Regions from separate parts of the Homo sapiens genome. Here regions 2, 3, 4, 5, 6 and 7 are each linked to region 1. The links are contacts of gene promoters, found by promoter capture Hi-C in blood cells and fetal thymus (Javierre and others, 2016). All regions are on one chromosome and are shown on one strand. The core of a region is centred on a gene start or on the middle of the fragment in contact, and the rest is flanking DNA. Distances in the headings are between cores, read along the strand shown.

Region 1 (3,958 bases), core at 823-3,322:
CTCCTCTGCCCATGTAAAGAGGTTCCTCCTTCCTCTTCACCTTCTGCCACAATTTTAAGTTTCCCAAGGCCTCCCCAGCCATGCTTCCTGTACAGCCTGTGGAACTGTGAGCCAATTAAACCTCTTTCTTTTATAAATTACGCAGTTTCAGGTAGTTCTTTATAGCAGTGCAAGAACGAATACAACATGGTTCTAATTATCCTATATATTTCTTGAATTTTTGAAAAATATGCTTTGAGAAATGTTAGGTAAACATTTTCAGTGGAGATAAAACACTGTAATGTTATCTTTATAGCATACATACCAAAATTTAAACATTACATTCCCCAATTATTAGACATTTAGATATTTTCCAGTTTTTGCTGTTATAAAAAAACCTGTGATGTATCTTCAGGAAAATCCCTGCAACTACAGTTACTGAGTTGTATGGTGTGAGAAGTTTTTGGGTCTAGCCACATACTGCTTGTTTTCCAAGAATTTTACCCATTAACTCCTGCCTCAACTGATTAAATATTAGAGGACACTTTCACCAGCCCACTAGGAAGAGCTTTTAAATACAAGTTTTGCCTACACATTAACGTTTTAAAAATATTTAATTTACACACAGCTTTTGAAGAACTCCCCATGCACGTCTGTCATTCTCAATTGGCTTCCACAAGTCTCAAACTTACTAGGTAGAAAGTAACTAAAGTCATAAAGCACTTGGTGGAAATGCAGGAAATGTCAAATATTAAACAATAATTACTACAGGCTTAGGCAATCAGATGGTAGTTTTGCATACAAACAAAAACAGGAATCTGAGATGTTAAATAATTTGTGTTTTTTTTTTTTTTTTTTTGAGACAGTGTCTTGCTCTGTCACCCAGGCTGCAGTGCAGTGGCATGAATTTGGCTCCCTGCAGCCTGGATCTCAATCTCTCGGCCTCAAGCGATTCTCCTACCTAAACCTCCTGAGTAGCTGGGACTACAGGCAAGGACCACTACGCCTAGCTAATTTTTGTATTTTTTGTAGAGACGAGGTTCCCTCTTATTGCTCAGGCTGGTCTCGAATTCCTGGGTTTAAGTGAACCGCCCGCCTCGGCCTCCCAGAGTGTGAGGACCCGCCTGGCCTAAAATAATGTTATCACTTAATTCTTTTCATAAACTTTATTGACAACGATTGGTGTGTTTTTTTAAAAAACCTTTTTAAATTTTTGGTAAGGTATTACCTGAGAACAGATTAAATGCATAGTTGAATATAAAAGATCTATTTTATAGACTGGTTTATGAGTGTGAACACACAAAAGGTTAAAAGGTCAACCTTACAGCAGTCTATAAATAGATCTCTCATATTCTCTCAGTATATCTGAGAATATTGAAAAAGTGCATTTCAAAATCACTGGCTAGGGTTTAGTGATAGTTAGGTAGACCTCGGTTCCCTTTCCTATTGGGCCCTGGATTTCCCATCCCTATTTTCTTCCTCAGGTGTATTAATACTGGCAGGGCCTGGGAGACTGACGCTAGGGAAGAGGTGTGTAATGTAAGGATACTTCAGATTCTTTCCTGATCCTAGGATTCAGCTAAACCTCCACATAGCCCCTGTCCTCAAAAATGAGTAAATACATAAATTTAAAAATGAAAGGAAAAAAAGAGAAATCCGTTCCCACCACCCACCTTCAGGGCTAAAACAGAAAAATCAATGAGCTGCGCTTCACAACCATACCAAAACCAAACAAATACCAACTCAAACCCTCCTTCACATCCTCCCACATCTTCCCAGTGCTTCGCTATCTCACAGGACCCAGCTGGCCCCTGGCTTCGCCCCACCCACTGCAGCTGGCGTCTTTTAGGCGCATGGTTCTTTTCCTCTCCGGCGAGGGGCGGTCTCGGGGCGGACCCGAACTACAATTCCCAGCATCCTGCGCGGCGCGGGGAAGGAAGCCCGGGAGTGAGAGAAAGCGGCTCCGGGGGCATAGCGGGCCAGTAAGGGCCGCTCCTCCTTTGAAGAGGTTTTGCGTCTCTTTCCGCCGGTGGCGTCGGCGCTCACGCAGGGGCGGGTCCCGGTAGCGCCAGGCGGTGCAGGGCGGGAAGGGGATTCGTGGCGACGGCGGCGGCAGGGACAGCAGGAGCAGTGGTGCTGTCAGCGCGGCCGTCGGAGACATGGGAGACCCGGGGTCGGAGGTGAGTAGTCGAGTGAGGGTCCTGGCGTTCTCAGAGGCGAACCGCGAAGGGTTTGTGTTTTCTGCGGTCTGAGGCCTGGTGCTCCGTCGCAGCCTCGGGGCGATACCTCTTCAGTGTCTTGGGCCGAGCCCAGCTCTGGGGCCTGGTGCGTGTCTGAGCGAGGAACCCGCAGCAACAATGGCCGCCCGGCCCCCCGCACGGGCCCTGGCGTTCGTTGTGGCCGCGGCTGGGCCAGTGGGAGCGACGTTTTAAGGCAGGATTGCCCTTCGGTGTTGAGCTTGCGTTCCTCCTGGAGTAGATAAGGGGAATTGTGAGAGGCTGGTAACTAACGCGTTTTCAGCGTTGGGTCCCTGCAGCTCCGCACACTCTGTGGCAAGAGCCAGAGCTCGAGTTCCGTTCCTAGTCGGGTTTCCGTGAAATTGTGCTCAGTTCGTTTTCCTCAAGAGCTCTCTGTCTTTAATTGTTCCTTTCGGAAACGCTCTCTTCCTACACGAATGTGGCTGAACAGATAAGCATGTTTTGGCTTGTTTTTATAGATAATAGAATCTGTCCCTCCAGCTGGCCCTGAGGCATCTGAGTCAACAACGGATGAAAATGAAGACGACATTCAGTTTGTCAGTGTAAGTAGCAATGATGATTGGGGTTTTCCCAGAGTAAAAGACTATGGTGGGCCATTATGTAATGTTACCTCACCTGGTCATTTAATGTTCATGAGTGTCTAATACATACTAGACACTGGAGCATGGCGCAGGATTGGGAAATTTACCAAAAGAGCTATCTGAGCCACCCCCGTAGCCATCACAAAGAGCACGTCCTAAAGAACGTGCTGTACACTTAATCTCGCCCCCTGCCTTTCATTTAAACTTAAGATAAAAACGCTGGTGTCTAAAACGCTGTTTTGAAATGGAGCAAGAGTAACTTCTAAAGGCGACACGGAGGAAGGAGCTGCTAATGATGAGCAAGGACGTAGAAAACAGGAAGGGTTGTGAGAGCCCAGAATCTTAGCGTTATGGTGCTTCTAACATGAAGGCAAATAGCTTGAAGATTTCTCTAACCTCTGAGATCATCATGTTACGGCATAGTACAGTTGATGCTCATAATGAAGAATCCTACATCACTGGGAACATGCTCTATTTTTCTGAGTTTGTTCCCTTTGAGACAGTAGTTTTCAAGCCTTAGTAAGTATAAACAGGCAGATTCCTGGGCCCCACTGCAGACCTACCGAATCAGAATTTCCAGGCGGGGGCCTAGGAATCTTCATTTTCAGACAAGTGCAGGGACATAAGGATTTCTGAGCACACTTTGTACAGCATGGGTTTCCAAAGCAGAAGAGAGTGTTTTATGATGTATTTTGGGGTGATTTTCTTCCATAATTATTGGAGTTTTAGAAAGGCTTTGCGTAAAGTGGTATCTCAGCTCGCCAGGCAGAAAACGGTTCTGTCCCCAACTCGTCTTTTGGAATGCCGTAGTTAGTTGCAGTTTGGTATTCAAGCTGTAGAATTTTTCGTTGAGTGTCAGATGTGCATTTATGGTGGATGCTGGGAAACCTTGTAAAATTGGTTATTAAACAGTTTCTTTCCCAGCATTAGGGCCATTTTGGTAATTCATTTTTGTATGGTATTTTAATAGATTTGTTTAGGAGTCCTTCACAAGATTGTTTTATTGAATTTCTTTCCCTTTACCAGTGTATGTTGTACTCTCTCCTTTTCATTTTGATCTTCTACGGATTTGGAGTAGAGGATGGGGGTGAATTGTATCCTGTCCTTTCCTTCACCATGCGCTGAAGTATGTTTAATAAC
Region 2 (4,179 bases), core at 406-2,905, 240 kb after region 1:
TTTTATCCATTTATGTTTAATTACTGATAACTTAGTATTTCCGTGTGCCATCTATGTGTTTCCTATGTCTTAAGGTTTTTTTGTTTCTGTATTTCTCCATTACTGCCTTCTTTGTATTAAAATGGTATTTTCTAGTGTACCATTTTAATTCCTTTGCTGTTTATTTTACTGTATTTTTTGAGTTATTTTCTTCGTGGTTTCCCTTAGAATTACAATTATATTTTATTTTAAAACAATCTAGTTGGGATTAGCATTAAGTTAATTTCAATAGTGTACAAACTTTTGTTCCCATATGCTCTGTTCCCTACTCCCTGCCATTGTCCTAGTATGGTCATACAAATTATTTCTTAATATATCAACAGAGGTAAACTTTTTGTGTTCTAGATTGTATGAAAAATGTATTTATAATACTGTCAAACTTGAGTGTAGTTTGCCTTGGTATACAGGCAAATACCTGTATGTTGGGAATATTTTTTATTGGCATTTTGGAGATATTGCTTGCTGAACCTTTTAGCTTCTAGAGTTGCTCTTGAGAAGCCTGATTTCATTTTGACTTCTTATTCTTTGCATGTAACTTTGTGTCCTTTGCCAGTCCCACTCTCTTGTGTAGTGAACTTTCATGGCGATGTCTGCACCTTTTTTCACTTTTTTGGGTTGGGAACTTGGTGGACTCTTTTAATCTGAAGATTTGATTCTTCAGTTAGAAAATTTCTTTTTATTATTGCTTTAATAATTTCTTCTATGTTCTCTTTTTATAACCTCTTGTTAGGTGGAATTTATATTTTCTGGATTGGTACTCTTATTTTCTTTTCGGTCCTGACATTCAATCTTTGTGTTTTTATTTTATTTTCTGAAAACTTTCATCAACTGTTTTCTCAATTTTCTATTTATTTATTTTTCCCTCCTGTGTTTAATTTTTTTCTTTTAAATTTACTTAAAAATTGAATATAAAATTGTATGTATTCACTGTAAAATATAATGTTTTGAAGGGTACATTGTGGAATGATTACATCTAGCTAATTAACAAATGTATTACATCAACAGTTATTTTTGTGGTGAAAATACTTAATATCCACTCACTTAGCATTTTTCATCAATACAGTTTGTTGTCATTAACTGTAGACATCATGTTGTACAATGGGTCTCTTGAACTTAATACTCTTAACTGTGATTATGCATCCTTTAACAGACATCTCCCTAACCTCTTTTCCTCCCTAACCACCCCAGCTACTGGTAATCACTATTTTACCCTCTATTTCTATGAGATCAACTTTTTTAGATTCCACATATGAGTGAGATCATGACATATTTGTCTTTCTGTGCCTGGCTTTATTTACTTAACGTAATATCCCTGTTTCATTCATGGTGTTGCAAGTGGCAGGATTTTCATTTTTTTTTATGACTCAATATTATTCCGTTATGTATATATATTGCATTTAAAAAAATCCATGTATCTATCGGTGGACACTTAGGTTGATTCCGTATCTTGGCTATTGTGAATAGTGCTGCAGTAAATATGGGTGTGCAGATGTCTTCAGCATACTGATTTCATTTCCTTCAGATACATACCCAGTAATAGATTTTGCTGGAACATATGGTGGTTCTATTTTTAATTTTTTGAGGAACTTTCATATTGTTTTTCATTTCTACAAAAAATAAAAAATAGCTGGGTGTAGTGGTGCACACCTGTAATCCAGCTACTTGGGAGGCTGAGGTGGGATGATTACTTGAGCCCAGGTGTTGGAGGCTACAGTGGACTATGATCTGTAGCCCACCCTGGGCTACAGAACAAGACCCTGTCTCTCAAAGAAATAAGAGGATAATAACGATTTTCACCTCACAGATTAGTGAGGTTTAAATGAGGTAGTGCGTATAGAGTGCTTAGTACTGTGCATGGAATATATGCTGGGTAGTAATATTACGGAGGATACAGAAGCAGCATATGCCTGTATTGTGAAGAAGTTCGGAGTCAATTAGATTGATATGTTTTTACTGCAATTAAAAAAATGGTTTTGGAATAGGAACAGCTCCGGTCTACAGCTCCCAGCGTGAGCGACACAGAAGATGGGTGATTTCTGCATTTCCATCTGAGGTACCGGGTTCATCTCACTAGGGAGTGCCAGACAGTGGGCGCAGGTCAGTGGGTGCGCGCACCGTGCACGAGCCGAAGCAGGGCGAGGCATTGCCTCACTCGGGAAGTGCAAGGGGTCAGGGAGTTCCCTTTCCTAGTCAAAGAAAGGGGTGACAGATGGCACCTGGAAAATCGGGTCACTCCCACCCGAATACTGTGCTTTTCCGACAGGCTTAAAAAACGGCGCACCAGGAGATTATATCCCGCACCTGGCTCGGAGGGTCCTACGCCCACGGAGTCTCGCTGATTGCTAGCACAGCAGTCTGAGATCAAACTGCAAGGCAGCAGCGAGGCTGGGGGAGGGGCGCCCGCCATTGCCCAGGCTTGCTTAGGTAAACAAAGCAGCCAGGAAGCTGGAACTGGGTGGAGCCCACCACAGCTCAAGGAGGCCTGCCTGCCTCTGTAGGCTCCACCTCTGGGGGCAGGGCACAGACAAACAGAAAGACAGCAGTAACCTCTGCAGACTTAAACGTCCCTGTCTGACAGCTTTGAAGAGAGCAGTGGTTCTCCCAGCACCCAGCTGGAGATCTGAGAATGGGCAGACTGCCTCCTCAAGTGGGTCCCTGACCCCTGACCCCCGAGCAGCCTAACTGGGAGGCACCCCCCAGCAGGGGCAGACTGACACCTCACATGGCCAGGTACTCCAACAGACCTGCAGCTGAGGGTCCTGTCTGTTAGAAGGAAAACTAACAAACAGAAAGGACAAACACACCAAAAACCCATCTGTACACCATCATCAAAGACCAAAAGTAGATAAAACCACAAAGATGGGGAAAAAACAGAACAGAAAAACTGGAAACTCTGAAAAGCAGAGCGCCTCTCCTCCTCCAAAGGAACGCAGTTCCTCACCAGCAACGGAACAAAGCTGGACGGAGAATGACTTTGACGAGCTGAGAGAAGAAGGCTTCAGATGATCAAATTACTCCGAGCTACGGGAGGACATTCAAACCAAAGGCAAAGAAGTGGAAAACTTTGAAAAAAATTTAGAAGAATGTATAACTAGAATAACCAATACAGAGAAGTGCTTAAAGGAGCTGATGGAGCTGAAAACCAAGGCTCGAGAACTACGTGAAGAATGCAGAAGCCTCAGGAGCCGATGCGATCAACTGGAAGAAAAGATATCAGCAATGGAAGATGAAATGAATGAAATGAAGCGAGAAGGGAAGTTTAGAGAAAAAAGAATAAAAAGAAATGAGCAAAGCCTCCAAGAAATATGGGACTATGTGAAAAGACCAAATCTGCGTCTGATTGGTGTACCTGAAAGTGACGGGGAGAATGGAACCAAGTTGGAAAACACTCTGCAGGATATTATCCAGGAGAACTTCCCCAATCTAGCAAGGCAGGCCAACATTCAGATTCAGGAAATACAGAGAACGCCACAAAGATACTCCTCGAGAAGAGCAACTGCAAGACACATAGTTGTCAGATTCACCAAAGTTGAAATGAAGGAAACAATGTTAAGGGCAGCCAGAGAGAAAGGTTGGGTTACCCTCAAAGGGAAGCCCATCAGACTAACAGTGGATCTCTCGGCACAAACTCTCCAAGCCAGAAGAGAGTGGGGGCCAATATTCAACATTCTTAAAGAAAAGAATTTTCAACCCAGAATTTCATATCCAGCCAAACTAAGCTTCATAAGTGAAGGAGAAATAAAATCCTTTACAGACAAGCAAATGCTGAGAGATTTTGTCAACACCAGGCCTGCCCTAAAAGAGCTCCTGAAGGAAGTGCTAAACATGGAAAGGAACAACTGGTACCAGCCACTGCAAAATCATGCCAAAACGTAAAGACCATTGAAATTAGGAAGAAACTGCATCAACTAACGAGCAAAATAACCAGCTAACATCACAATGACAGGATAAAATTCACACATAACAATATTAACTTTAAATGTAAATGGACTAAATGCTCCAATTAAAAGACACAGACTGGCAAATTGGATAAAGAGTCAAGACCCATCAGTGTGCTGTATTCAGGAAACCCATCTCACGTGCAGAGACACACATAGCCTCAAAATAAAAGGATGGAGGAAGATCTACCAAGCAAATGGA
Region 3 (3,756 bases), core at 1,061-3,560, 190 kb before region 1:
AACCAACAACCATACAGGCTGCTTTTTATGCAGCTTCCTGGACATTCCCCATCCACCCACCCGCCCCCTCCACCCTCTACACACACACATTCATTCTCTCTCTCTCTCTCTCTGTCTTTCCTTCTCAATCTCATTTTTTAACAAGCTTCTCTGATAATTTTTCTACACTTTGAAGACTAAGAATCTCTAGGAACCAGAGTTTAGTTTGACCACTAGATGGCATTATCTCCCATAGCCCTGCATTCTAATTCAGAAATTTGGTGTTCTGGTAGAATGAACAAAATATTTGATGATATAGTAGCTTCTGTAATAGTGGAGTAAGTTCAGTACATTTCTTTGGTAAGAATGTAGATTCTCTTATGAGTAATAAGCAACCAGATTTTGCTTAACTGGTATTATTACCAATAGTCCTCAGTGGACTACAAATTCTAGAAACACTTAGGGAGAAAAACTGCATAAAACTTCGCTAAAGTAACCAAATGACAGAGATTAAAACATGCTGTCACAGCCATTCTGCAAAACAATAACTCAGTGAATTCACATCCCTGTATCTACCCTAGAGAAATTCTACCAAGAGTGCCCAGTAAGATATTCAATGCAGAATTATTTATGATATAAAAAAATTTTTTTGAGACAGAATCTTGCTCTGTCACCCAGGCTGGAGTGCAGTGGTGTGATCTCAGCTCACTGCAACCTCTGCCTGCTGGGTTCAAGCGATTCTCCTGCCTCAGCCTCCTGAGTAGCTGGGATTACAGGTGTGCACCACCATGCCCGGCTAATTTTTGTATTTTTAGTACAGATGGGGTTTCACCATGTTGGCCAGGCTGGTCTCAAACTCCTGACCTCATGATCTGCCCAGCTCAGCTTCCCAAAGTGCTGGGATTACAGGTGTAAGCCATCGCATGCGGCCAAAAATTCTAAACCACTTAAATCAGTCTTTCCTAAACTTCAGGCATCTTCATTCCACCTTAACATTTTTTCTCCAGATCTGAGCACTGCCTCAGTTATTTCTTTTATACCCAAATTTACTTGTACTATTTTAAAATAACTATTTATAAGCACTGTGGTATACTACACAGACTCTGCAGCCACTATCTGGGTTCTAATACTGCCTTTGTCACTTCCTAGTTGTATGATCTTGAATAGTTACTTAATTATTTCCTCACCTATAAAATAAGGATTAAAATAGTAATTCATAGGGTTGCTGAAAAGAATAAAGTAATGGAGGTAAAGTACTTCAAAGAGTACCTAGCACGTAGTAGTACAGAAACATTCACTATAATTACTATGGATATTACTTGTGTGAATAAAATATAGTCTTGAACACAATAGTGTATTATTCATACTATCTAAAAAAGAAATCAGGTGGAAATAGGAAAATGAGTCACATTGCTGGTGTGCCTTGAAGACAGACACATGTGAGGTACCGATCATTAGGAGAGAGTTCTTTGTTACTCTCCAGTGAGTCAAACTACCTGGGTTCAAATATAATACCAGCTCTATTACTTACTAGGTGTGTGGTCTTGGCTAAATTACTTCTCTGTGCCTTGCTTCTTCTTTAATTTGTCAAATGCATATAACAATACGTCTCTCTTGTAGAGTAATGGGGTGTTTAAATGAGATAATCCACATTACGTACTCAGAACAGTACACAGCATAGAAAAAATACTTAATACATTATTATCATTATTATTACTGCTTCACTTCCTGGATCTGGCAGCAGCAATTTACACATCAGCAGCTCACAGCTATGATTACAAACACTATAAACAACGATGACCGTTCACCTTTATTTCCCTAAATAACTGTAAGGAATTACAGCTCCTTGATTTATGACACTTTCTTCTCCTAAGTAATATTAAAAAAAAGCCATGTCTTTTAACAGAGGAAATTTTAGCTTGAAACAGTAGGTGGTGCTATAAGTTCTTCCAGGTGTTAATAAGAGTTACTCTTTTTCTTTTGAGACCGAGTCTAGCTCTGTCGCTAGGCTGGAGTGCAGTGGCGCAATATCGGCTCACTGCAACCGCCGCCTCCCGGGTTCAAGTGATTCTCCTGCCTCAGCCTCCTGAGTAGCTGGGATTACAAGCATGTGCCACCATGCCCAGCTAATTTTTGTATTTTTAGTAGAGATGGGGTTTCACCACATTGGCCAGTATGGTCTTGATCTCCTGACCTCATGATCTGCCCACCTCGGCCTCCCAAAGTCCTGGGATTACAGGCGTGAGCCACCATGCCCGGCCAATAAGAGTTACTCTTCAACCATTAGGTGATGGACACTTGGAAGCCTGTCAGTAGTGGACTTCTATCATTTTTAGGACACCCCAAATTATCAGCCCCTTTTGGATAATCATTTCCCAAGATGTGCACTCGTGTGTGTGTGTGTGTGTTTGTGTGGTGTGTATGTGCATGTGTGAGGAACATTTATCATGAGATCTGCTCTCTTCAACCTTTAAGTGCACAATACAGTATTGTTAACTCTGGGTACAATGTTGTATAGCAGATCTTTAGAACTCATTCAGCTGGCGTAACGGAAACTTTATACCCATTGAATAGCAACTTCCTATCTCTCCTTCCCTCCAGCCCCTGGCAACTACCATTCTACTCTTTGATTTTATTAATTCAACTAATTTAGATACTTTATATAAATGGAATCATTCAGTATTTGTCTTTCTGTGACTGAGTTATTGCACCTAACATAATGTTCTCCAGGTTCATTCATACTGTTGCATATGCCAGGATTTCCTTCATTTTTTAAGGCTGAGTACTATTCCATTGTATGCATATATTGCGTTTTCTTTTTCTCTACTTTTTTTTTTTTTTAGACAGAGTCTTGCTTTGTCACCCAGGCTGAAGTGCAATGGCACAATCTCGGCTCACTGCAACCTCCACCTCCCGGGCTCAAGCAATTCTCCTGCCTCAGCCTCCCAAGTAGATGGGATTACAGGCACAGGCCACCGCACCCAGCTAATTTTTATATTTTTAGTAGAGATGGGGTTTCACCTTGTTGCCCAGGCTGGTCTTGAACTCCTGACCTCAGGTGATCCACCCATCTCGGCCTTCCAAAGTGCTGGGATTACAGGTGTAAGCCACCACACCCAGCCTATATTGCACTTTCTTTATCCACTCATCTCTCCACGGACATTTAGATTGTTTCCATATCTTGGCTACTGTGAAAAATGCTGCAATGAACATAGGAGCATATATAACTCTTCAAGATCCTGATTCCAACCCCTTTGTACATATAGCCAGAAGTGTGATTGTTGGATCATATGGTAATTCTAGTTTTAACTTTTTGAGAAACCACCATACTGTTTTGCATAGCGGCTACACCAGTTTACATTCCCACCTACAGTGTACAAGGGTTCCAATTTCTCCATAGCCTTCTGATACCAGAGTTAAGAAGAAATTACTAGGCAGATACTCAGGGTACAAAAGTCCTCAGTCAGATTTTCCCTTTAACGAAAAGCAGCCCCAAATCATTTTCTAACAAAGAACAGCCTGTAAAGTCAAGCTGCAGACATAGACAAGCAAGCTGAGAGCTTTCACAGGTGGATGCCTGCAGGAAAGAACTACCTGGGACTAGACGTGTTCAAAATGATGGCTCCATCTTCCCTTCTCTGCCAGCCACGTGTACAGTAAGAAGAAGACAAAATGGTGCTGGCCAAGGGAAGAGTCATTAGCATAATAATATTAGGGTGGGGTAATCAGCCCTCCAGGCCCGCTATGTAGACGTCACACCTGATCAAATCAATCTGT
Region 4 (3,800 bases), core at 1,254-3,753, 170 kb before region 1:
ATTTTTAAATAACTTTGCATAATCTATGGATGAACTTGAAAAACAAATATCGTGATTAGTAAGAGCAGTTATCAATGCATTTCTTCCATTTGAATCTTTTTTTGAGATAGCAATGACTAAAATCAAATATCAAAATAAACTGACTTTAAAACCAGACATTGAATTACTAATTCACATAGTGTTAAAGATTTTTTAAAATAATGAAGCACATTTAACTGCATTTTTCTCATGTTGAAATCTGTTTTACATAATATATTAGAATAGGTGTATATGTATATGTATATAATTGATACGTAAATACATATACATATTGAGTGTGCATGCTCAAATTTATTTCACTGGTGGGGGTGCAATCAAAACTGTGAAGACTACCGGCAGAAAAGGATCTTTTTGTTATTTCGTATATTTATCTCCAACATATAAAAAAGGAAGAAAAATCTAAATGGACTATAACCATAGAAGATACAAAAGAGGATAGGAGAAAGATCTAACATGAAAAAAGGTTCTAGGCACAAAGACTTTGCACACATAGCCCCCATTAAATGCTAAACACACAGCACTGAATTATTATTATATTGCTGTTTACGAAATTATTTCCTTAAATACATACATATATACGTATGTATCCTTTCTCCATATATATATATCATTAAAATATATAAGTTCCTATTCCCATTGACTATTAAAATCTCTGTTTTCCCATGCACTGATTCAGTTAGCACTCCCATTTCCAGAAGCATACTGCTTATGTTAAAAAGGGCTATGTGTGTACAGTCAAGTTCTATCTAACCTACAACAGGTCATTCCTATATTTTTCAAATTATTCTAAGAAATAGAAAAAGATAAAAATTTTCTCATCAGGCCAGCCCATGGAGCTGCAGCCGCCCTTCGTTCCCTCCTCACCTTCCCTACCAACATCATGGTCCAGGTCCTGCTTTGATTTACTTTGGGCAATGTGGTTGGAATGTAACTGGCTCAGAACTATGGCATACTATACAAAACCTGGCTAAAAAACTTGAAATTAAAAAGGACTTGGATGCCAAGAAGGTTGGAGCCTAGTTCATGAGGCACTGTCTTATAGATACACTGATTCTACTCTCTTGAGGGTCTCCTTTACCATCTGAACCAAAAGCTTTTGTTTGCATCTCTAGCCTCAGTGACCTTCTTCTTTGCTAAACCCTCTGTTTTTTTTGCCTTAGAGCAAGCAAAATGGGGCCCCAATTTGAGAACTACCCTTACATTTCTGGTATTCTCACCTCTTCCATATCCTCCTTCCAGCTGCATGAATGGTTCTAAGACTGGAATTATGGTGCTAGATTAGCAAATATGACTTTTAATGAGTAGTTTCTTCTTTATTGTTTGGAATTTCTACTACCTTTTGTCAAAAGAAAAATGGATGAGCTTTGTACAGCTGGTCAGATACAAATAATGCTGATTTCACAGTTTAGCAATTATAATGGGTGCTTGTTAAACATTACTAAATTTTATTGTTTCAAAGTAATTAAAATTAATATTAAGAAGCTAAAAATAACTCTAGATTCATGTAAAGATCCTAGCACAATCTAAAAACAAAACTTGATAAACTCAAGGAAATAAAGTATACATCAATCTAACATATAAGTTTTAAAGTCCTAAATAAAATCTTGCCAGAACTATCAAAGTGAGTTAAAATAATAATATTCCAAGACTAAATAAAGTTGATTCCAAGAAATCATGGCTGATTCAATAGGGAACTCATTACTGTAATTCACTACAGTTATAAATTAAAGGAGAAATAATTATATCAATAGGTACCTCAAAAATTCCCTTAAATTTTTAAAATTCAATTAAGTTCAGGAGAAATTATTGATTTTAAAATTGAGTAAAATAAGAATAGAAGGAAACTGCCTGAATATTAAAAAGATTACCTACCAGGAAGTTTTATTTGGGACTTGTTGATTTTTTTCCTTAGCTTAGACAGAGACAGTGATCAGAAAGTACTTATTTGGGAATTTTGATTTTTTTCCCTGGATTAGATGGAGAGAGTGGATGCTGGTAAACCGGCTCACTGGCAAAAAAAAAAAAAAAAAAAAAAAAATCCTGATGTAGGGTGTATTAGTCTGAGTTCCCCAGAGAAACAAAACAGATAAGGAACTGGCTCAGGCAATTTGGAGGCTGGTTAATTCAAATCTACAGGATGGGCCAGTGGTTCAGGAGATGCAAGTAAAGCCAATGTTTTAGTCCAAAAGCCATTGAGCAGGAAGATCCAATGTTCCAGTTGAAATCTGAAGGCACTCAAGTGTAAAATTCTCTCTTACTCAGGGGAAGGTCAGTCTTTTTGTTTTATTAAGGCCTTCATCTGATTGGATGAGGCCCACCCACATTATGGAAGGCAGTCTACTCAAATCCACCAGTTTAAATGTTAATCTCATCCAAAAACACCTTCCCTATGGCCAGGCATGGTGGCTCATGCCTGTAATCCCAACACTTTGGGAGGCTGAGGCGGGAGGATCACTTTAGGTCAGGAGTTTGAGACCAGCCAGGCCTACATGGCAAAATCCTATCTCTACTAAAGATACAAAAATTCACAGGGTATGGTGGTACATGCCTGTAGTCACAGCTACTTAGGAGGCTGAGGCAATTGAATCGCTTGAGCCTGGGAGGCGGAGGTTGCAGTGAGCCGAGATCACGCCACTGCTCTCCAGCCCGGGCGATAGAGCAAGCCACCATCTCAAAAAAAAACCCTCCCAGAAACACCTAGAATAAATGTCTGACCAAGTACCTGGGTACCCCATGGCCCAGCCAAGTTGACACATAAAATTAACCATCACATAGTGCTTGCCAAAATTCATGGTATAAACACTCCCATCATGGCCATGATATCACTGAACGCAGAGTTGGAACGATAAACATAAAACTGGCTCTCCCTAGCTGATATAGCTCCCTATCAGATAGCTCTCCCTGGAGAGCCAGTTATATGCATATTGATCCCCAGCTCCAGCTCACCAATGGATGGAGACTGATGTTATATATTTTTTAATATTTATATTTGTGTTTATCTGTATGTATATACATACACACACAGTTCAGCTTTTCTGTGTTCAAAGATAGCCTGAGGACAGGTTTAATATGCTTAAACAAGAAAATCTGAGAGCATGGTGTCTTGCCGATACAAGCAATTATATTGGTTTCTTCTCAGCTTTGGTCATCTTCGATTTCTACTAATATTCTCTTATGGTGAAGGAAATTTTACCAAGGCAATAAATTAAACACAGAAAGAGAGCTAGTTTTTTTTTGGTACTGGAAACATACAAAGCCATCATTTCTAATTTTCAAACATATATGTCACTTATTTTAACTTAATCACAAGAAGCCCATACTTCTTATGATTAAGTTAAAATAAGTGACATATGTGTTTGAATAAGTGACTCTCCATCCACAGTGCAGGAGAGATCTCTCATTTCACCCTATGTTGTGTCCCCTAAAATGTTCCTAAGTAACTTCTCATTCACAGTAAAAATTCAAAATAGGCTTAATTAGAGGCCACTTTCCTGTGCTATGGAAATTTACTTAATCCAGCTTATTCCTTTTATAATTAGAACACCTGTAACAAAGGACTGAAAAGTACATTACCAACAGCATAGTAGGAAAGAGATGGGGAGGAGGGGGACACTGAGTTCTATATGTGGTCATTTGAGTTTAAAGAAAAATCCATATCACAAATGCTTGCTTTAATAAAAGTATTTCTTTAATTTAATAAGATAGGAGGAAGAGGATCAGGACATTCCATCTCATGCCAAACTTTGATGGAACTGGCTAAC
Region 5 (4,200 bases), core at 1,671-4,170, 200 kb before region 1:
ATAATTCCTTGTCTATTTTATATTATTTGTTTAAGTTTTAAATAATAAGCACATTTTATACACCATTCACTAATATGGTCTGTCAAATGTTCTAAGTAAAAAGACAACAAATAAGCAAATAGTTCTTTGTTAAAAGAAAACAAGAAGTAAAAAGAAATCAGGAGATGGCCATAAGAACAATTTCCCACCTTCTGCCTTTCTAAAAACCTTTTAATAATAAATATCTAAAATCTCAAAATGTTATTAACAAAAATTTAGGCTTACTCTACGGAAAACAAAAGTGTTGATGATGCAAACTTCAAGTAAAGGTTTGTTTCTTTCTCTAATGTCTTAAACCTTTCATTATGGAAAATTTTATGCTTATACAACAAAGTAAAACTATAGAGAACTGCCATTTACATGCCCAGCTTGAACAATCACCATCTCCTGGTCAGTGCTATTTCAACTATACCCCTATCCACATTTTCTCCCCTACCCCACCAGATGATTTTAAAGCCAATATGAGGGATTTTATTTCATTATTAAATATTTTAGTATGCATCTCTAAAAGATAATAATTATTTTTAATAAAATAAAAATACCATTATCAATCTAAAATATTTTTATAAGTTTCTTAATATCATTAAATATCCAAGCCTGGGCAACAAAGCAAGACCATGTTTCTTCAAAAAAATTAAAAAATTAGCCAGGCTTGGTGGCACACACCTGTAGTCTCACCTTCTCAGGAGACAGAGGCAGGAGGATTACCTGAGTTCAGGAGGTTGACGATGCAGTGAGCTGTGATTGTGCCACTGCACTCGAGCCTGGGTGGCAGAGTGAGAACTTATCTCAAAAAAAAAAAAATTCATTGTTCAAATTTCCCCCACTTTCTCTTTTTTTTATATTCGGTTTATTCACCCAAATAAGGCATACATGTTACATTTGGTTGGTAGGTCTTTTAAGTCTCTTTTCTTGTATAGACTATCACTCCCACATTTTTTCTTATAATTTGTCAAAGAAATTAGGGGTATTTGTTCTAGAGTTTCCCACACCTCAACTTAGCTAAATCCTAAATGTATCTTCACTATCTTCACCTTATCATTTAACATATTCCTCTGTCACCTGTATTTTATGTAAATCTATAATTAGAACTAGCAGTTTGATCTGATTTAGGTTCAATTTTTAGCAAGAATACTTTATAAGTATTTTTGTATACTTTCATCAGGAGACGCATATGTGTGGTTGTCTCTCATGTATTAGCAGTCATTGATGATCAGTGTCTAGGTTCGTTATTTTATTAGGGCTTGCAAGGTGGTAAAATTGTAATTTCATCATTCCTTCTTCCTTCAACAGCAGTAGGAGCCTCTCCAAGTTTACTCCTGGTGCTGACATGATCCCAGTAGTCTTTGATGCTTCCTTGCTTTCGAGTTTGACAAGATGTGCCAAGCTCATTTTTTTTTTCTTTTTGAGATGGAGTCTCACTCTGTTGCCCAGGCTGGAGTGCAATGGCGCGATCTCGGCTCAATGCAAGCTCCGCCTCCCAGGTTCACACCATTCTCCTGCCTCAGCCTCCCAGGTAGCTGAGACTACAGGCACGTGCCACCACGCCAGGCTAATTTTTTTTGTATATTTAGTAGAGACGGGGTTTCACCATGTTAGCCAGGATGGTCTCGATCTCCTGACCTCATGATCCGCCCACCTCGGCCTCCCAAAGTGCTGGGATTACAGGCGTGAGCTGTGAAGCTCATTCTATATTTTCTGTTTCAGGTCTGGAATCAGCCATTTATCCAACAAGTTTGTGATTGATGGTTTCTATGAGTGTCCTGGCTGCATCCCTTCCACCTGGCCAATGGACTCACATACAGGCTACTGTGAGGGTTGGCTGCTAATGGCTCATAGCCGCCCTCCCCTTCAGGGACTCCCCTAACCTAAAGCTTCCTCACACCCCCAGCCCTAGCAGCCCATAACCAATGACTGACTGAGGTGAAGGACAAAAGGCTTGGCTTCAAGTTGAGACTAACTCTGCGTACAATTCATGTGCCAGGGTTCAATATTCAGAAGTGGAATAGTTGGCTCATATGATAATGCTATTTTTTAATTTTTGAAGACCTACCATACTGTTTTCTATAGCAGTTGAACCATTTTACATTCCCACCAAGAGTGCACAAGGGTATATAAACTTAATTTTAACAACATATTTGCTTAGGTATCTGCTTTGGTTTGAATGTTGTATCCCACCCAAAATTCATGTGTTGAAATTTAATCCCCAATATGACAGTATTAAGAGGAGGGGCTTTTTGGAAGTGATTATGTCATGGGGGCTCACCATCATGAATGGGTTAATGCCACTACAAAAAAGGCTTCAAAGAGCTCCCTTGCTCTCTCTTGCTGTCTTTGCCTTCTGCCTTCCACCAGGTGAGGATGCAGAAACAAGGTGTCATCGCTGAGGAACAACACCTCACCCAATACCAAACCTGCTGATGCCTTGGTCTTGAACTTTCTAGGTTCCAGAAGAGTGAGAAAATAAATTTCTATTATTTATAAATTACCCAGTCTCAGGTATTCTCTTATAGCAACACAGATGGACTAAGACAGTGTCTGATCCCCATCGATCTTAGTAATACTGAGCTGCATGTAGCAAGGGTCAATGTAGATTAGCCAGTGGTATTACCCAGTATCAGAGTTGATTATCTAATTTACCAATTCATAATTGAATAGGGTGTGTGGAGGAGCAGCATGGGCTTGATAGTATTAGACCAAAGTGGACTTGCCAATACACAGGTAGCCTAGGGTGGCCAACACAGATAATGCAGGCTGTGAGCAGACTCTCAAAGATGTAAAGCTACTCCCTGGGAATGAGTCACATTGGGATACTGAATAATTCCTCCAGTCAAATGGAATCTATATTCTTCTCCCTGGAAGTTCTCACCCAATTCTCTAAGCATTGTCAGAGATAAAGACTAAATAAACATAGGATAAACACAGGAGACAACAGACTGCAAGGATGAGAGAGGTCTGCTTCTAACTGACCTTATGAACTTAAGCCAATCACCTACTCACTGAGGTTTAGTTTTGTCAAACTGGATCAATAATATATGCCATACCCAACACACAGGGTGTTTGTTCAGGAGATAATGAATATGAGCAGTCTTTGAAAGTATGAAGTGCTACTTAACTACGAAGTACTACTCCAAAGCTATAATTTTCCTGAAACAGCCAGGCATGGTGGCTCACGCCTGTAATCCCAGCATTTTGGGAGGCCGAGGCGGGCAGATCACCTGAGGTTAGGAGTTCGAGACCACCCTGACCAACATGGAGAAACCCCGTCTCTACTAAAAATACAAAATTAGCTGGGTGTGGTGGCACATGCCTGTAATCCCAGCTGCTCGGGAGGCTGAGGCAGGAGAATTGCTTGAACCCAGGAGGTGGAGTTTGCGGTGAGCCGGAGATCGTGCCATTGCACTCCAGCCTAGGCAATGAGAGTGAAACTCAGTCTCAAAAAAAAAAAAAAAAAAAAAATTCCTGAAACATTACTGTCATTTCTAGAACTGAATTCTCATCTCCCAAAGCACAAACTAAATTTTGTTCAATTTCCATAGATTGATTTTTTTGAAACACAATCATCATCTCAGAACTAAAATAAATAAATAAAGAGAGAGAGACAGAAAATATTGAGAGAAATCAGACCCTTATCACTCACTTGGAGGTGGTTTAGAAGAGTAAAACAAAAATGATGTTTGGAAAAATTAAGAATTAGACTTAGGAGAAAAGTTCAGAGAGATAGAACCATGAGCCTAGAAAAGAAACAATTTATTGATTTTCAAGTACAATTAACTTGCTGCTAATTAGCACTATTTAATGGTAGGAGATTGTATCACTAAAAGTACTGAAGCAGAGAGGAATCTAGCATTACAAAAACTGTTAAGTCAGATGAGCTCTAAGATCCCCTCAAGCTTTAACATTCTTTGATTCACAAAGACTGAGAGTGACACGGTAGCAGGTGGCTATGCTTCATCCTCTCCACAGAGGATACCACAATAAGAAATGGTCTTAAATTGTAAGGCATGGGATTTAGGGCAAAGATCAAGGAGTTGTTTCAGGCAGAGATGGCTGTTAAATTCCAAACAGAATTCTGAGGTAAGCTATGGCTGTGTCCTTTAAAATAAAGGAAGCTATACCCATCTTACCAGAGCAATTTAAGGATTTCTTTGGTTAGAGGTG
Region 6 (4,063 bases), core at 1,334-3,833, 160 kb after region 1:
CTTGGGATAGTGCAGGGGATGGGGTTTGGGGCATGAGAGTGCACTTGGATTACCTGATTATAAATGGCAGCACAATGAATTTTTAATATAAAGTTACAGCTTTAAAATTATTGAGAAAGATTAGTTGATTGGTGTCACTCTAGTCATAGAAAACATACAAATCTAATTCTGATTTTGTGCCAACAGACTATTATTTTTGTGCTTGCACACTTATTGTATCACATGCATCTCTATCCATCCATTTATCCACATATCTACAAATCATATATCTCAACACTGTAAAAAACTCCAGTTCCTTATAAATTACTATTTTATTTTCTCTTATTCTAAGCTTCCTTCCTGTAACTTATTTAATTGTTAACAAAATGTGTTATAGAAACCTGTGTTACTTGTTCTGCAGCCCATTTACGGGGGAGAAGATATTATGTTTCCTTGGTCTATGTTTCAAAGGTATCAACTCTCTTTGTTCCTGTATAACTACTTACATTTGAAGTGAAAAACTCCCAGAGGCCAACAGAAAATGGCTATGAAACTAGAAAGAATACTATTCTACCTACGCTAGTATATAAGTTTCCTAAGATGTTAGTGAAATACAGCTGGAGAAGTGCTTCAGTTTGGCTCAGTTTTGTTTTGGCCCAACTCTTACCAATAGCTCCTCTCCAATCTCCAGGAGATACGCCGTCCTATCGGTGATGGGGGAGGAGCAGGAGTGAAAGACAGGATGGTGTTGCAACAATTCAAAACCCCAGAGCGCACAGTTACCCCCAATGCACTAATCAGGGTGTAGGTACTATAACTTACTAAGCCTGTTTAATAAATCCATGCCTGTACTCAGGTGAATGGGGAATGGTGAGAGAAGAGAGAACACTGTGATAACCAACCAGCTCGAACAGGGAGGGGCAGCCAGCCCACCGTTGCAAGGAGAGCTGGGCAGATGTCTATCAAGATAACCATTTCTGCTGCCTGCTGATTCTCTCACCTGCCAGTTTCTGCATCTGCCCATAGAGTACTCATGTGCTCCTTCCTGTACCAGATGATCTCCCTGGACTTAATTTCTTTTTTTTTTTTTTTGAGACGGAGTCTCACTCTGTCGCCCAGGCTAGAGTGCGGTGGCGCGATCTCAGCTCACTGCAAGCTCCGCCTCCTGGGTTCACGCTATTCTCCTGCCTCAGCCTCCCGAGTAGCTGGGACTACAGGTACCCACCACCATGCCCGGCTAATTTTTTGTATTTTTAGTAGAGACGGGGTTTCACCGTGTTAGCCAGGATGGTCTTGATCTCCTGACCTCGTGATCCGCCCGCCTTGGCCTTCCAAAGTGCTAGGATTACAGGCGTGAGCCACACCGCGCCCGGCCTGGACTTGATTTCTTGATTGCCTGCACCTAGAGTATCCATCGTCTTTCCTACGTGGCTGGGCAACTAGGTTTATCCCTTTCAGGCTAGCCCTCCTTCATTGCCATAACATCTAGGGGTGACATTGACTGAGTTGTATATGATTATTCATCATTTCTCGGGCCTAGATAGATTGTGATGAGTTTTAGGGCTTGTCAAATTTCAAGGCTCTGTTTTTATACCACACATAATTTTGGGAATTTGTAAAGTGCTTAATAATTATCCATCAATGAGTAAGCTTTGAAGGAAGATTAAAAAGTATTATGAAATAAATTACAGAGTTATAGTTGAGGCTTATTCAGAGCAAAATTATTTTTGGTGTATTTTGAGCACTAGGTAAATGTCAAAGGCACCCATGAGAAATAGCAAAAACTGCTGTAATAGTATAAATTCTCATTTATAGCTGCTGCAGAAGAGATGCAAATGTTCTCTATGTGGTTGCTCTGTGTGAGGAGGTGTTTCATGGGACTATCAAAATCCTATCTTAGGTTGTCATTTTGGACACTAAAAATTTTCAAGTAATAATTTAAAGAATCTTGAGGTTTCCTTTTGATATGGCCTAGAAACCTTTGGCAACTAATTTCTGTATGACTCAAAGGATTTCCCCTAGAAGGGAATCCTACTATTTGGGCTTTTAAAAATAAACTGTCATTCTGGATACATTTGTAGCCCTGACTAGTGGGTGAGCATGAGTTTCATTCTGAAATCCAGAAAGAATAATGAGACTAAAAAAAATCAAGACACTGAGTACAGTATATTAGTTAATATAGCATATAATTCAATGTTTGCTTTAGAATTTTGAATTTAGCCAAAAAATAATTGGATCAGGTACTAATGATCAAAATGAGATCACGTGAGGAATTAAGGAGTGTACATAAGATCTTGGATTACATGTTACATAGTCATGTGGCGTAACCAAATGTATCCAAGTGTATTTACATGTGACTTTGAATTATAATGGCAGAGAGTTGGTCAAGGAAGAAGAGTACCCAGGCACCCAGCAAGTTAACACTGGAAACAGATGGTAGGAGCGGTTTCAAATTGAGCCAACTTATTTAAATTACAAAGAGATCTTCAAGTTCATTTTGCTATCCATAGAAAGCAATAAATCACACCTATTAACTTACCTAATTGTCTTTAGCTAGCAATATTAGATTCAGTCTCATACTCCTTTAACTTTCATTTAATAGTGTTATTGGTTGAGGGTGGGTTGTTGTCCAGGTTCTTGGTGTTTCGAACAAATAATTGAACAAAATGCACAAACAAAGCAAGGCAGCAAAAGCAGAGATTCATTTTAAACCAAAGTACACTCTAAAGGGTGGGAGTGGGATTGAGCAACTGGCTTAAGAGCATAGGTAACAGAATTTTCTGGGGTTTAAATACCCTCTAGAGGTTTCCCATTGGTTTATTCTATGCAAATGAAGTAGTGGCCCACTACCAGTCTGATTGGTTGTTGGAGGGGACCAATCAGAATGAAGAGTAGGCCTGCAACCAGTCTGATCCATTGCAGGAGGGGACCAGTCAGAGGTAGTTTCATTTTTCAACTTCCCCTCGGAAAAAGGAGGGGCTGAAAAGGGAGTAGCCTCTGATATCCAGTCAGCATGAATGAGCCTTAGGCTCCCTGCCTCCAGACCCTATTCTCCTGCCTCAATAGCAGTTTGAGATAAAATGCAATGTTTGAAAGCTACCTTACAGTGAGTTAGTGATTTCCGTTTAATATCCTTAATGTATTACTTCAAAATAACAGAATTTATTGAACAACACACAAGTCAATTTGCTTATTAGCACATTGTTCTCTGCAGAACTGCTGGCGACCTCATTGCTCCACTTTGGAAACCACGTTAATATACTGGGGAAACAGATTTAGTTAGCTTTGAACCATGATCACAGGACAATTATGAAAACATGCAAATTTGAAAGGCTAGACTCTGACACCACAAATTTTTAAAATAATTCTCCAAAAACATTTGCATCTAGGATGTGACATGCTTAAGGAGTGAAAATCTAAACTAGCTTTTCCTTTCCTTCCCTGCTTCTGCAAAAAGCATATTTTCCCCTTCACATTTGCTGAGCAATTTTTCTTTATTATGCATATTAGGTCAGTTGTGGAAGAAAGAAGTCTTTTTCTAGTAGGATTACTTGTTTCAAAGCTTAGACTAGCTTAGATTGAGGGTAAGAATAGCATAGAACTGTCCAGTCTGAGTAGGGCCAAGTTTGCCAAGAGGGGTTATAGGTTATCTAATGTGACATAAAGAATACCCAGGTTAGGTTGGGCGTGGTGGCTCATGCCTGTAATCCCAGCACTTTGGGAGGCTGAGGCAGGTGGATCGCTTGAAGTCAGGAGTTCAAGGCCAGCCTGACCAACATGGTGAAACCCCTTCTCTACTAAAAATACAAAAATTAGCCTGGCGTGGTGGTGCGTGCCTGTAATCCCAGCTACTCAGGAGGCTGAGGCAGGAGAATCGCTTGAACCCAAGAGGAGGAGGTTGCAGTGAGCTGAGACCATGCCATTGCACTCCAGCCTGGGTAACAAGAGTGAAACTGCGTCTCACAAACAAACAAACAAAAAAAGAATACCTATGCTAACGTGCTGGTCAAAGGCTTGGAGCTACAAATAGGATGGAGACTGGAGATGGCACACTGAGTTTAAGGACCTAGACCTGAGGGAAGAA
Region 7 (4,084 bases), core at 959-3,458, 130 kb before region 1:
CATCTAATCTGGCTACTAGTACTCAGACTTGAAAAATGACTTTTAGGGAAAGATAAGGAATGTCTTGGAATGTAGCCTAGGTTGTCTGTGATTATTACCAATTTATCTGGAAGTGAGTAAATTACCCAGTTGGTAATCACACAAGGACATTACATTGAAATATTACCCCTTGAAAACAAGAAGCTTAGGTAAGAATGGCTCTAGCAATAAATTATTAGAAATAAAGCATATTGATTTTGGCCTGGTAACTTCCTTGCTTCTAGGTGAAGTGTTTTACATGTGCTTGTATTAAAAGGTAAAGGAGCTATATCATCTGGAAGAACCTACTTCATCTAAAATAAATTTGGAGGTGATTTCCAGCCACCAGAACCAGGGAAACCATCATGTGGATAGATTACTATTTTCTTTTTAATATTTGAGTTTTTGAAAGGAAAATAATTGTAACTTGCAGTAATATCAAATATTATTTTCAGCAAATATTCCCTGGTAAAGGGCTTTATTTTACCGTAATAAAAACTTTTAAAATAACTTAAAACTACTGAGAAAATATTGCAAATGGAATTATTTCAGATTGTTGTTTTAACATTTTAGCTATTGTAGAGCCTAATTAGGTTTTGTTGTTCTATGGGTTACCACACTGCCGAAGCCATGATAATTCCAGGAGTATGTGAGGGGAGTTCTTTTTGGGTGTGTGAGCATTACAGACTTTTCAAAAAAGTCAGCTGAGTTTGGGAGCTTAAAAACATCAATATAATTGAATTCGTCTACTATATAATGCTTTGCAGACAGTTTTTGGAAAGTAATCATTTATTATCCACAAGCAAATAGAATTTATTTATATAGTTTCCACATTGAGTGTGGGATTAGTCATGCCACAAAATACTGAGTCATTTGGCCAGAAAATTTACTCATAGTTGTATGAACTGCCAATGGAAAATTTGAGAACTGTTCATAAATCAAATTATAAAGCTCTTAGAGTTATAAATCGCTGAGCAATATCGTTCATTATTATTCCGATGGTATAAAATATTTCCACCATTTCTAAGAATGGGCAATTTACAAAGCAAGTTTGAAAGCTGAAGATATTGCCTTCTAGATCCAAGATGAAATTTGCCATATAAGTTATAAACATTCTACATCTGAAACTTCTACACTTCTTAAGTAAAAAGATAAAAAAGTAAGGTAGGAGCTTTATTATTGCATAGCAAATGTTACAAGATGAATAAAATTTTGGTTATTATCTACAAATTAAGTTCTAGGTTGTGATGATAATAAAACTACAGCAACATTGAATAGCTAGAGTTCCCCTATTTCTTACAATAATTCTTTGTCATTTAGGACTTTTGCATTAAATATTTTGTGCTAATAGAGTTGTATGCTAATGCATCAATGCACTCATAGCCTGAAAAAATATTGTCACTAGGAGAGCAGAAGTACTAAATGTACCAAGGAGAGCAGAAAATTGTGATGAGCAACTGATGATTAGTAAAAGATGTATTAATAATATATAGTTCCAGAGATTATTGATACCTCAATGTAAGGACATCCCATGAATCTAGGAAGAGAAAGAAAAGTACATCTTTAAAATGTTTTTGTAGCCACAAATACTTTATGGAGTAAAACAGGGCAACAAACAGCAAACACACAAATTGGAATATAGTAGAGTTTATATTTCAAAGAAGAAAGCCATTAACCTAAAGCCTGTTCTTGCCAGTCCTATCTCTACTGTAGAAGTTCAAACTGGAATTCATGAGTAGGTTTCTAGAGACCTGAAATTACATGTAAAAACTTGTGTCTCATTTTGAGGACATGATCCATACCTTTCATTAGATTCTTAATGAGCTCTCCCCCAACTCCCACAATGAGAATCATCAGAATCATGCAAATCCACATAGGTACTGAGGCTTCTGAACTCGTATAAGTCATTTGATCCATCAACAATGGCAGCACCTGGGTACCCCTGAGACTGTAAGAAGTGTCTTGGGGACTATCCGTCCATGGTTAGCAAAGGAAACTTTCTGTTCTAAACTATAAAAGTTTAGATAAGTCTCCCAAGTGCAGGTGAGTGCTGCCACCCAAAGACTAAATGGAGATGATGTGCTGGGAGTTAATTTGTCCTCTAGCATCTTTAAACATATTGGGAGGGAGACAAATGAGTCACCTAAGGTAACTCCCACTGGGATGTCAGTTGTAACCCTAAGAGGAGAAAAGACTGTGTTAACAATCTAGGACCACTTCCATAGACTTCTGTTATGGAAAGAAGGGATAAATTGATTCCTAAGCTGCCTTCATGCCAATTAACTACCCAATTTATAGCTAGATGTTTGAATGGATAAGCCCATTCCAAGCCAATAGGACTAGTCCTAAAAGGTAGTCTTGGGTTCACAGTCTGCAAAAATTGCTATAGTCTTAAGGCCTAAAAGAGGGACAAAAGGAATTAGTATTAGGTTCCCAGAAACAACTCACAGACATTCTGGTAAATAAAGCCACCACTCTTCCTAAATCCTTCCCCAAGCCCACATTCAACAGTCTACTGTGGAGTCTGCAGACCTGGTAATTGGTGCCCTCAATCCCACCAGGGTGATTCTGCACTCTGGTGGGAAGACTGCCCATCCAGCTGTTCAGCTTCACCTACTCGTTGTTTCTAGCGTCCCACCAGGAGTGGAATGCTATGGTTTAAATTTTTACTTCTGCAAAAACTCATGTAGAAATTAGATTATTGTTGTGACAGTATTGGCAGGTGGGACCTTTGAGAGGTGATTAGACCATGAGGGCTCTGCCCTCATGAATGGATTAATGCTGTTACTTTAGGAGTGGATTTGTTATAAAAGAGCTAGTTCAGCCTCCTCTCTCTCTTTCTCTCTCTCATCTTCATCTTCCACCATGTGATGACACAGCAAGACAGCAAGACACTCACCAGATGCCAGCACCTTGATATTACTGCAAGCCAGTAAATTTCTGTTCATTATGAATTACTAAGCCTGTGGTATTCTGTTTTAACAGCACAAAACAGACCAAGACACCACTCTTGCCATATTTGTGGACCTCAACTCCCTCTCCACCACCATATTTCCAGGATACTAGGTCTCAATGTCACATCATCATGATCACATATTGTTACAGTATGAAGCTGGTTATTTCATTATGTGACTGTTTCACTCCAGTGGGCAAGTCCAGTTTCCTGACGTATCCCGATCTCTCAGTGTGGCTAGTTCTTTTTGCTCCAAGTTCTGTTCTGATCCTCTAGGGTTTGGTGACATAACATTCATGCATTCCACACAGAAACAGACCTTGGATCAATATGATTTCCTGGGTGCCTCAGACCCCCCTCTGGGCCTAGTGGGCACTGTTCTTTGCACACTTTCAGTCTGTGGTCATTTGTAATGAGGCAGGAATCTACTTAGAGAAGATATTGCAGGATTGTAGTTAATGTATCAGACTTCCTGGTGGTTTGCCATCTGGTGAGCTGTTAAAAGTCTAGGTCTTAGTGCCTAGATTAAGGGGCACCAACAGCACCCTGGGAGTTGATTGGTATGATCATTATTCACCTGTGCCACTTCCCCAGAAGGCATGGAATAACATGCACTGGTCATCCTCATTACTGAATGGCTACCTTGATGTGGACCACCTAGTTATCTGTAGCAACAGCTAGCACTTATTGAGTATCTACTCTCTGCTAAATGCTTTACGTGCATTTACTCATTCAATCCTCACAGCAGCCCTGAGTAGGTACTACTCTTATTCCTATTTTATGGATGGGAATTCCAGGGCTTAGAGATGTAAGGAATTGCCTAAAGACCACACACCTAACAAGCGGCATCAAAATTCTTCAGCACTTCACAAACCACACAAACCATTCCTGTTGCATGTTTTCCATTTGCACTGCCTCCCTGCTTCATTTGCACTGCAGCTCTTCCCCTAAAGGAAATCCTCTCAGTTGGAGCTTGCTGAGCAGCTACTCTTCCTCTCTTCTGACTCTCCTTAGGCTACCCCTACCCAGATTAATGAAGGCCAACCCGACACTCCAGCAGAACGTCAGATGTTTCCTTGTACACAAGAGATGCAGTCCTCTCCTTTAGCCTGT

Evidence for each region. The method cuts DNA at HindIII sites, captures the fragments that hold promoters and counts their contacts. A CHiCAGO score of 5 or more calls a contact.
Region 2: a contact is called between a fragment that was not itself captured here and the fragment with the promoter of ZNF451 in region 1, in 3 of 17 cell types (non-activated CD4 T cells, naive CD8 T cells and total CD4 T cells). The highest score is 5.4, in non-activated CD4 T cells.
Region 3: a fragment that was not itself captured here is called in contact with the fragment with the promoter of ZNF451 in region 1 in 12 of 17 cell types (erythroblasts, megakaryocytes, naive CD8 T cells and 9 more); the score reaches 15.0 in erythroblasts.
Region 4: a contact is called between a fragment that was not itself captured here and the fragment with the promoter of ZNF451 in region 1, in 1 of 17 cell types (erythroblasts). The highest score is 5.6, in erythroblasts.
Region 5: a contact is called between a fragment that was not itself captured here and the fragment with the promoter of ZNF451 in region 1, in 1 of 17 cell types (erythroblasts). The highest score is 6.5, in erythroblasts.
Region 6: a fragment that was not itself captured here is called in contact with the fragment with the promoter of ZNF451 in region 1 in 1 of 17 cell types (naive CD8 T cells); the score reaches 5.8 in naive CD8 T cells.
Region 7: a contact is called between a fragment that was not itself captured here and the fragment with the promoter of ZNF451 in region 1, in 4 of 17 cell types (erythroblasts, megakaryocytes, fetal thymus and 1 more). The highest score is 7.0, in erythroblasts.

The regions. Positions count from the first base shown.
Region 1 is chr6:57,088,116-57,092,073 of GRCh38, forward strand. It overlaps ZNF451 (zinc finger protein 451), which reads left to right and starts at 2,073. Exons shown (of 15, transcript NM_001031623.3): 1 at 2,073-2,159; 2 at 2,696-2,779. The coding sequence starts at 2,139. RefSeq lists enhancers at 1,742-1,891, 1,759-2,641 and a silencer at 2,062-2,131. The HindIII fragment of the contact is 8,135 bases long and covers 1-3,958 here.
Region 2 is chr6:57,332,854-57,337,032 of GRCh38, forward strand. The region is part of intron 5 of PRIM2 (DNA primase subunit 2); the gene reads left to right. Among named protein-coding and RNA genes, the nearest start is that of PRIM2, 17 kb to the left of the region's middle. The HindIII fragment of the contact is 4,202 bases long and covers 1-3,756 here.
Region 3 is chr6:56,902,848-56,906,603 of GRCh38, forward strand. The region is part of intron 2 of DST (dystonin); the gene reads right to left. Among named protein-coding and RNA genes, the nearest start is that of DST, 50 kb to the right of the region's middle. The HindIII fragment of the contact is 4,334 bases long and covers 144-3,756 here.
Region 4 is chr6:56,921,412-56,925,211 of GRCh38, forward strand. The region is part of intron 2 of DST (dystonin); the gene reads right to left. Among named protein-coding and RNA genes, the nearest start is that of DST, 32 kb to the right of the region's middle. The HindIII fragment of the contact is 2,747 bases long and covers 1,131-3,800 here.
Region 5 is chr6:56,883,301-56,887,500 of GRCh38, forward strand. All of the region lies in intron 3 of DST (dystonin), which reads right to left. Among named protein-coding and RNA genes, the nearest start is that of DST-AS1, 41 kb to the left of the region's middle. The HindIII fragment of the contact is 2,019 bases long and covers 1,912-3,930 here.
Region 6 is chr6:57,245,802-57,249,864 of GRCh38, forward strand. It overlaps a transcript of PRIM2 not described here. Among named protein-coding and RNA genes, the nearest start is that of LINC03001, 16 kb to the right of the region's middle. The HindIII fragment of the contact is 1,912 bases long and covers 1,628-3,539 here.
Region 7 is chr6:56,959,266-56,963,349 of GRCh38, forward strand. All of the region lies in intron 1 of BEND6 (BEN domain containing 6), which reads left to right. Among named protein-coding and RNA genes, the nearest start is that of BEND6, 6.2 kb to the left of the region's middle. The HindIII fragment of the contact is 4,055 bases long and covers 182-4,084 here.